Regions from separate parts of the Homo sapiens genome. Here region 2 is linked to region 1. Evidence: promoter capture Hi-C in human tissues and cell types (Jung and others, 2019). All regions are on one chromosome and are shown on one strand. The core of a region is centred on a gene start or on the middle of the fragment in contact, and the rest is flanking DNA. Distances in the headings are between cores, read along the strand shown. Region 1 holds the start of OTOR (otoraplin). Region 2 overlaps KIF16B (kinesin family member 16B).

Region 1 (3,241 bases), core at 503-3,002:
CAGGTGCGGTGGCTCATGCCTGTAATCCCAGCATTCTGGGAGGCTGAGGAGGGCGGATCACTTGAGGTCAGGAGTTTGAGACCAGGCTGGCCAATATGGTGAAACCCCGTCTCTACTAAAAATACAAAAATTAGCTGGGCATGGTGGTGCACACCTGCCAGCCCAGCTACTTGGGAGGCTGAGGCAGCAGAATTGCTTGAACCCTGGAGACAGAGGGTGCAGTGAGCCGAGATTGCACCAGTGCACTCCATCCTGGGTGACAGAGCAATACTCCATCTCGGAAAAAAAAAAAAAAAAAAAAAGCAACAAAAAACAAAAAGACCACTCTGGCATTTGCTGTGCCTCAGTTTCCTTGTCTATAATGAAGGTATGAATAAAACAGACTTTCCAATCAGGACCAGCTATATAAAAGATCCTCCCTTGAAAGTCACACACACATACACACACAGCCACACACACACACTCACACACAGCCACACATACCCACACCCATACCCACACCAAAACTCTTTTACATACACACACAGATGCACTCAAACCAATACAACTCTATCACACACACACATATACCCAAAACAAAAAACCTTTTTATTATATTTTGCCTTACCCATTTATCCCTTGGGAAATTGTATTGCACAAAATTATTTAGTAAGTTAAATTCTTGTCCCTCATTTTATGAGGTTACGACTTTGGGGTTGGGGGAGAAGGCACTGCTCCGAAGTCACATCATCAACCAAGGTGGAGAAGGCATCCTGAGAGGATCTCTATTCTAGAAGCAATGGATAAGAACAGGGGAAGGGCCACCTTATGGGAGAGATGCCAGCCTCAAACACCCTATAAAAAGCAGTAACTTACTGTCTGTCTCTTCTAATAGAAAGCAACACTTGGGGCCAAAATATTTTTTTTAAATTTACTGCTATATCTTTAGTGCCCAGAACTATACCTGGCACAGTAAGTGCTCAGTAAATATTTGCTGAATAGACGGAGCTAGGGACTGGCGGTTCCACTTTGGTGCCTCTAGGAGTGCTCCTCTCCCCATGGGAAACATGCTCAGAAGCAGGAAGTTCCAGGTAACATAAACTTGTAACTTCACTCTCTTCTCTTTGACCTGTCACCCTTGAGCATTTGAGACTGAATTGCAAAAGTCTTAGAGAGAAGAGGTAGGGGAAAGATTGACCTATTTTTCCCAACCCACCCATCTCTTTCCCCACTGGTAGGGTCTAAATGGGGCATCAATTAGTATGTTAGAATTCATCTCTAGCCTGGGACAGGCATGCCTTCTAAGAATCCTATCATGAAAGATTTGTAAGCATAAGAATCTTTCATTTATCTATTACGTAAATCCAGATTTATTAATTGAATTTGTTTAAATCAAATTATTTGTGCTATAGATCTCACATTTTCAACAAATTCCTACAACTAGTATGTCTTTGCTCATAAGCTGAAGGAAAATTAGGGGTGAATTAAAACTAAAAATGGTTTGAAATTCTCATAGTCCTCTCAGCAAAGCCCTACTGATTGATACAATAGACCACTGCTAAAGCGGCTTTAACAATAGTGGACCATTTTGGATATTATCTGTGTATAGAAAGACACAGAGTTTGACTCTGTTTGGAAAATCAGACGCTAAATAGCCCCTGAAGCCGAGCAGCCTGTTATGAAAACGGAGGGGTGGTAGGCCCTTCTAATTGGCCAGGGTATTTACCCAGAGCTCTGGCTTTCACATAAAAGGCAGGAACCACTGAAGTCAGTCCCCGCTTCCAGTCAGAGTTCAAGTTAAAACAGAAAAAAGGAAGATGGCAAGAATATTGTTACTTTTCCTCCCGGGTCTTGTGGCTGTATGTGCTGTGCATGGAATATTTATGGACCGTCTAGCTTCCAAGAAGCTCTGTGCAGATGATGAGTGTGTCTGTAAGGACTTTTTTATGCTTTTCATTATCTTTCTATTACATAATTGAAAATATATCCACTAATAGCATAAAATCGAATTATACTTTGAAGTGAATCTTCTCCAATGTGTATGTTATCAGCTTTGTTTCTTCTGGTCTGCATGTTTGGTATCTTACTACGGAGAATTCACTTGGCTGAGTTTTGTTGCAGCTTTAATATCTTGGCTGTCTTCTTTCTCTTGGATAGACACCAGCTATGAACTGGGAATTATCAGTCACTCTGATTTTCTAGTTTTTCTAATATACATTGCCTTTTACTGTTATAAAATTCAGGAGCCTAAAATGTAATCATTTAAATTTTTTTTCTTCCAGATACTATTTCTCTGGCTAGTGCTCAAGAAGATTATAATGCCCCGGACTGTAGATTCATTAACGTTAAAAAAGGGCAGCAGATCTATGTGTACTCAAAGCTGGTAAAAGAAAATGGAGCTGGAGAATTTTGGGCTGGCAGTGTAAGATAATTTAAACACCTATTGACGAATATTGCTCTTAACCTTTCCTTGATTACCTACCTTCAACCTATTTTAATGCTTAATACTAGTTGTTAAGAACCATGTAGTGATTGTAGATGGAAATGCAAAAATTCAGGTATATTTGCTATTGCATTTTAAAGAAAGAAAGATCAATTTCGTAACAAAACCAAATGTAGGTTAATGTGATATTTTGGTAAAAAAAGAGTCAAATACATGGGGGCTTAAACATCCCAAAGAATTTGAATCTTATCCGAAAACGTCTGAGAAGATTTGCCAAGTAGAAGGCATGTGTGTTGGCAGTGAGTCTAAGTATCAATATTCTTTTAGGAAACTTTGCACCCTAATTAATTCGAAAGAATCAGCGTTCTTCAGTTAAAATATACAGGGGCGGTCCCTGGGGAGGGATGAAGCAGGGATGATTTTCTGTCCTCATCTGCAACCCTAAAGGTAAGTTCTAAATTAATGAAGGATTAAATTTAAAGCCATTTAAGTCTGTTCATTTGAATTGTTGAAAACTGAGAAATTTGCATCATTTAAAATAAGTGTCTACAGTACTTTAAAAAAATGTACTGTCTTTATATATTTATTTATGGGTTCAAAAAAGATTTCAGGCAACTCACAAGATTGCGTAAAATAAAGTCATGCTAAAGTAGCGAAATAAGACTGGGCCACTAAACAGTAGATGCACAATTCCTGCGGGTTAACTTAGTGCTCCAAGTAAACTTCGGATTTGCCGCAGCGCCCCCTGGACCCCGGAGTGAAAGGGAGGTATTGGCAGCTATGATTCTCACTATCAGCAAAGAGGACGCCTGCGAGTTT
Region 2 (3,513 bases), core at 495-2,994, 410 kb before region 1:
TGTTCATTCATTTTGCCTGGTACCAAGTAACTTCTTCGACTCACTGGTTCATGTCATTCTTAACCTTGGGTATGTTTTCTTCTATTATATCTTTAAAGATTGTTTCTGTTATGTTCATTCTGGAGTTTTCTTTAAAAACACAGATTAGAGTTGTATATTGGTGCTCTGAAAACTCTTTTAAATATCTCTCAGCTAATGTATCAACTAGAATGCCACCTTGTCAGGAGCCCAACCCTGAAACAACCTTGTACTAAAGTGTGCCCAACACCTTCTGCCCCACCATTCTTTATTGCTAATTTTCATATAAGGCATGTAACTCACTTTAAATGGTAACTGCAACACTGCATGCTTACTCTTAAAGTGCTAGCTATTATTTTCTCCTTGTTTACTGTCTGCCCCATATTTAAGATATATAGAAGAAGAAATTTTTGTTCTTGTCTGTCACAGTCTTACTGGAATCCAGAAAAATGTGCCTACACAGAATGGGTTGAAGTAATCAAATAATCAATATAAAATAAATACATCCTGGAATGAATGTGTGTGTGTGTATATAAAGTCTGAGTGCTTTTATTTCATGGAAATTGCTTTTGCTAGGTATTGCTTTGGGAATTCAGTGAGTTTAATTAAATACGCAAAATCCGTCCGTTATTAAAATACTGATGTAGTAACTTAAAACCAAGTGGTTAATGAGCTGCAAAGCTCACTTTAAAAACAAGCTGCTCTGTACATTTCATATGTACACAATACTTCTTTTAATTGTCAATATTGATTTCAGCCACGAAAATTAAACTGCAGAAACAAACTTAATAACTTGATTTTGATGTTATTACTGTTACAAGAAGCCTCTTGGGAACAAATTCCCACTTGAAGTTTCCTAAATTTTTAATAAAAGACTAGAGAGTGTGACAGCTTAGTAACAGAATTTCAGAGATAGCTTAAGATATGGTTTGGATGTGTGTTCCTTCCAAATCTCATGTTGAAATATGATCCCCAATGTTGGAGGTGGGGCCTAGTAGGAGGTGTTGGATCTTGAGGGCAGATTCCTCACAAACAGCTTGATGGTATCCCATGGTAATGAGTACCTTGAGATCTGATTGTGAAAAAGAGTCTAGGACCCCCTCCTTTCTCTCTTGCTCCCTGTCTCCCCATGTGACACACTGGGTCCCCTTCATATTCCACCATGATTGGAAGCTTCCTGAGGCCCTCACCAGAAGTGCTTCATGTACAGCCTGTAGAACTGTAAGTCAAATAAACCTCTTTTCTTCATAAATTACCCAGTCTCTGGTAATCCTTTATAGCAATGCAAACAAACTAACACAGCTTAATTCTACCTGAGCTCAAGATTCTTCTATACACCAGGGAACTATTTTATTTACAAAAAGCTATTTCTCTTTGTATTTTATATCAGATTTTAAAAAGGGTGGAAGCCATGAGAATGTTAAGGAAACATTATTTAATGTGAACCAAATTAGTGAACCAAATTTCTAACTATATTTTAAAATGTCATAAAAAACCATAAAAATAGTGCTCAAAACCAATAATTGGTGAAAGCAGGCTAGTTAGACAATGACTGTTGATTGATCTGCAGTCAGTTCAACACAAAATTCCCAGAAAGCTGGACCTAGATAATGCTTCCTTTAGTTGAAGTAAAATCATCTTCATCATCATCATTACTTGGAAAACACACATTCCTTCTAGGAATACTTTGCTTAAAATTACTTGAGAAACCTGTGTTTGTTCAAAAAGGAAAAGACGACTAATGTATTAATACCCTCTGGATATTTGATCTGATGCATGAAATGCTTTCTGGTCTCTAGATAATTCTGCATTTTCTATCTACCTTTCCCTCTACGTTCAATGGCAAAATAACTGTTATGACTTGACTTCTCATTAAGTATAAGACTAAGCATGAATGTAGTCTTTCTTTTTTAAAGAAAAAAGTGTAAATCTATATGAAGAAGTTATTTTAATTTTAATAGGTCTCATAATTGAGAAGTTATAAATTGATTAAAATATGTATTTAAAATTTACCATAAAATTTATGAGAAGGATGGAGTTCACTTACTGTCATTGTAATATCACTTTCAAAATCTTCTGTTAAGAAAATGTTTAAATTGTGTAGAACAGAAATGGAACAAAGAAGAAAAAATTTAAAGTTATCTTTGATAAATGGGTTATTGAAGTAAGACTTAGTGACACTAATAAGCTAGTATCTGAAAGAGAGAGACAGAGAGAGAGATAACATTGCTAATGCAATCAGCTCATTTACTTTATAAAATGAATGCTCTTAATCGGAGATAATAATTTCATAACTTACCTCTGCATACTTTAACTTCAATGTTTTATGCATTTCTCGAAAACGACTGTAACGCCTGAATACAGTCCATGTCTCATCTAGGACAGTAATCTATTAACCAGGAAAACCAAAATGAATAAGCATTAAGAAGCAAAAGTCACTAAAATTTTTCAAAAGAATTTAAAAATTAAATTTAAAAAAAGTGATTAGCATGTAAAATTTCTCTAGAACTGAAAACATTAATCTAGCTGCATAAATACAACTTAGAAATAATAAATGTACTTTACTTAAACATGCAGCTTTGGCTCTCAGATCTTGTTACAGGCAGCTTGTCTATGTAAAGTGAAGGGCAGATGGTCATCTCTTAATTGGTTATAAAAAGTGTCCCTTTTTATAGAAACACTTTTAAAGAAGAGGAGGTGGAAGAGGAAAAAAATCTCACTGCCTCTCAGTCATTGTTAGTATAATAACACAACAGTATATTTTGCTTTTTTTCAGAGGGAGAATAATCAATTCAGCCTTTAATAGGCTAGCTGGAGTGGAAACTCTGTTGCACATCAGCTCACATATGAAAGGTCACAGTGACAAGAAGAGGCAGGTAGACCACATCAGCCTTTACAATCACACCTAAAGCACAGGCCAATGAATCTCCAATTCCTTTCTCCACTTCCCACCTTTCTTCTGCGCTCTAGACCCACATACCCAACTTGGCACATCTTTCTTCCCATGTCACCCAGGAACCTCCAATTCAATTTGTCCAAAACCATACTCAACATATTCCCTCCAGTCCCAGCTCTGGTATTCTCCATTTCAAAGCATTCTACCACCACCTACCCAGCAATGCCAGCCAGAGATGCTGAAGTCATCCCTGACCTCCCTTCTCTTCCTATCCCTGCATTCAAGCAAGTGCTAAGTCTTGCTCCTTTTGCCTTCTAAACATTTCTTAGAACTTTATCCTTCCATCCTTTGCCATCAGCACCATTTGACTTTAGGCCTTTGGGTCTCCTGTGGACTCTGCAAGAGCATCTCCCAACTGTCCACCCCACATCTGCCCTCTCCAATCTCTTTTCTGCATGACTGAAAACAGATCTTTTAGAACTCAAATCTAACCATTTGATTTGGGAGGTGACCCTCCTTAAGGCGAGCTTCATGCTGCTCATAGAAAAAGACCTACATTTTTAACCTGCCCACAGCAGCCTGTCTGCAGGCCTCTCCTG

What was found. Contacts are between HindIII fragments. The study calls those that stand out against the background at their distance.
Region 2: a contact is called between a fragment that was not itself captured here and the fragment with the promoter of OTOR in region 1, in 1 of the 25 tissues and cell types used here (mesendoderm cells).

What each region holds. Positions count from the first base shown.
Region 1 is chr20:16,746,606-16,749,846 of GRCh38, forward strand. OTOR (otoraplin) reads left to right here and starts at 1,753. Exons shown (of 4, transcript NM_020157.4): 1 at 1,753-1,911; 2 at 2,262-2,401. The coding sequence starts at 1,797. The HindIII fragment of the contact is 9,309 bases long and covers 1-3,241 here.
Region 2 is chr20:16,333,609-16,337,121 of GRCh38, forward strand. It overlaps KIF16B (kinesin family member 16B), which reads right to left. Exons shown (of 26, transcript NM_024704.5): 24 at 2,318-2,407. Among named protein-coding and RNA genes, the nearest start is that of KIF16B, 240 kb to the right of the region's middle. The HindIII fragment of the contact is 3,874 bases long and covers 1-3,513 here.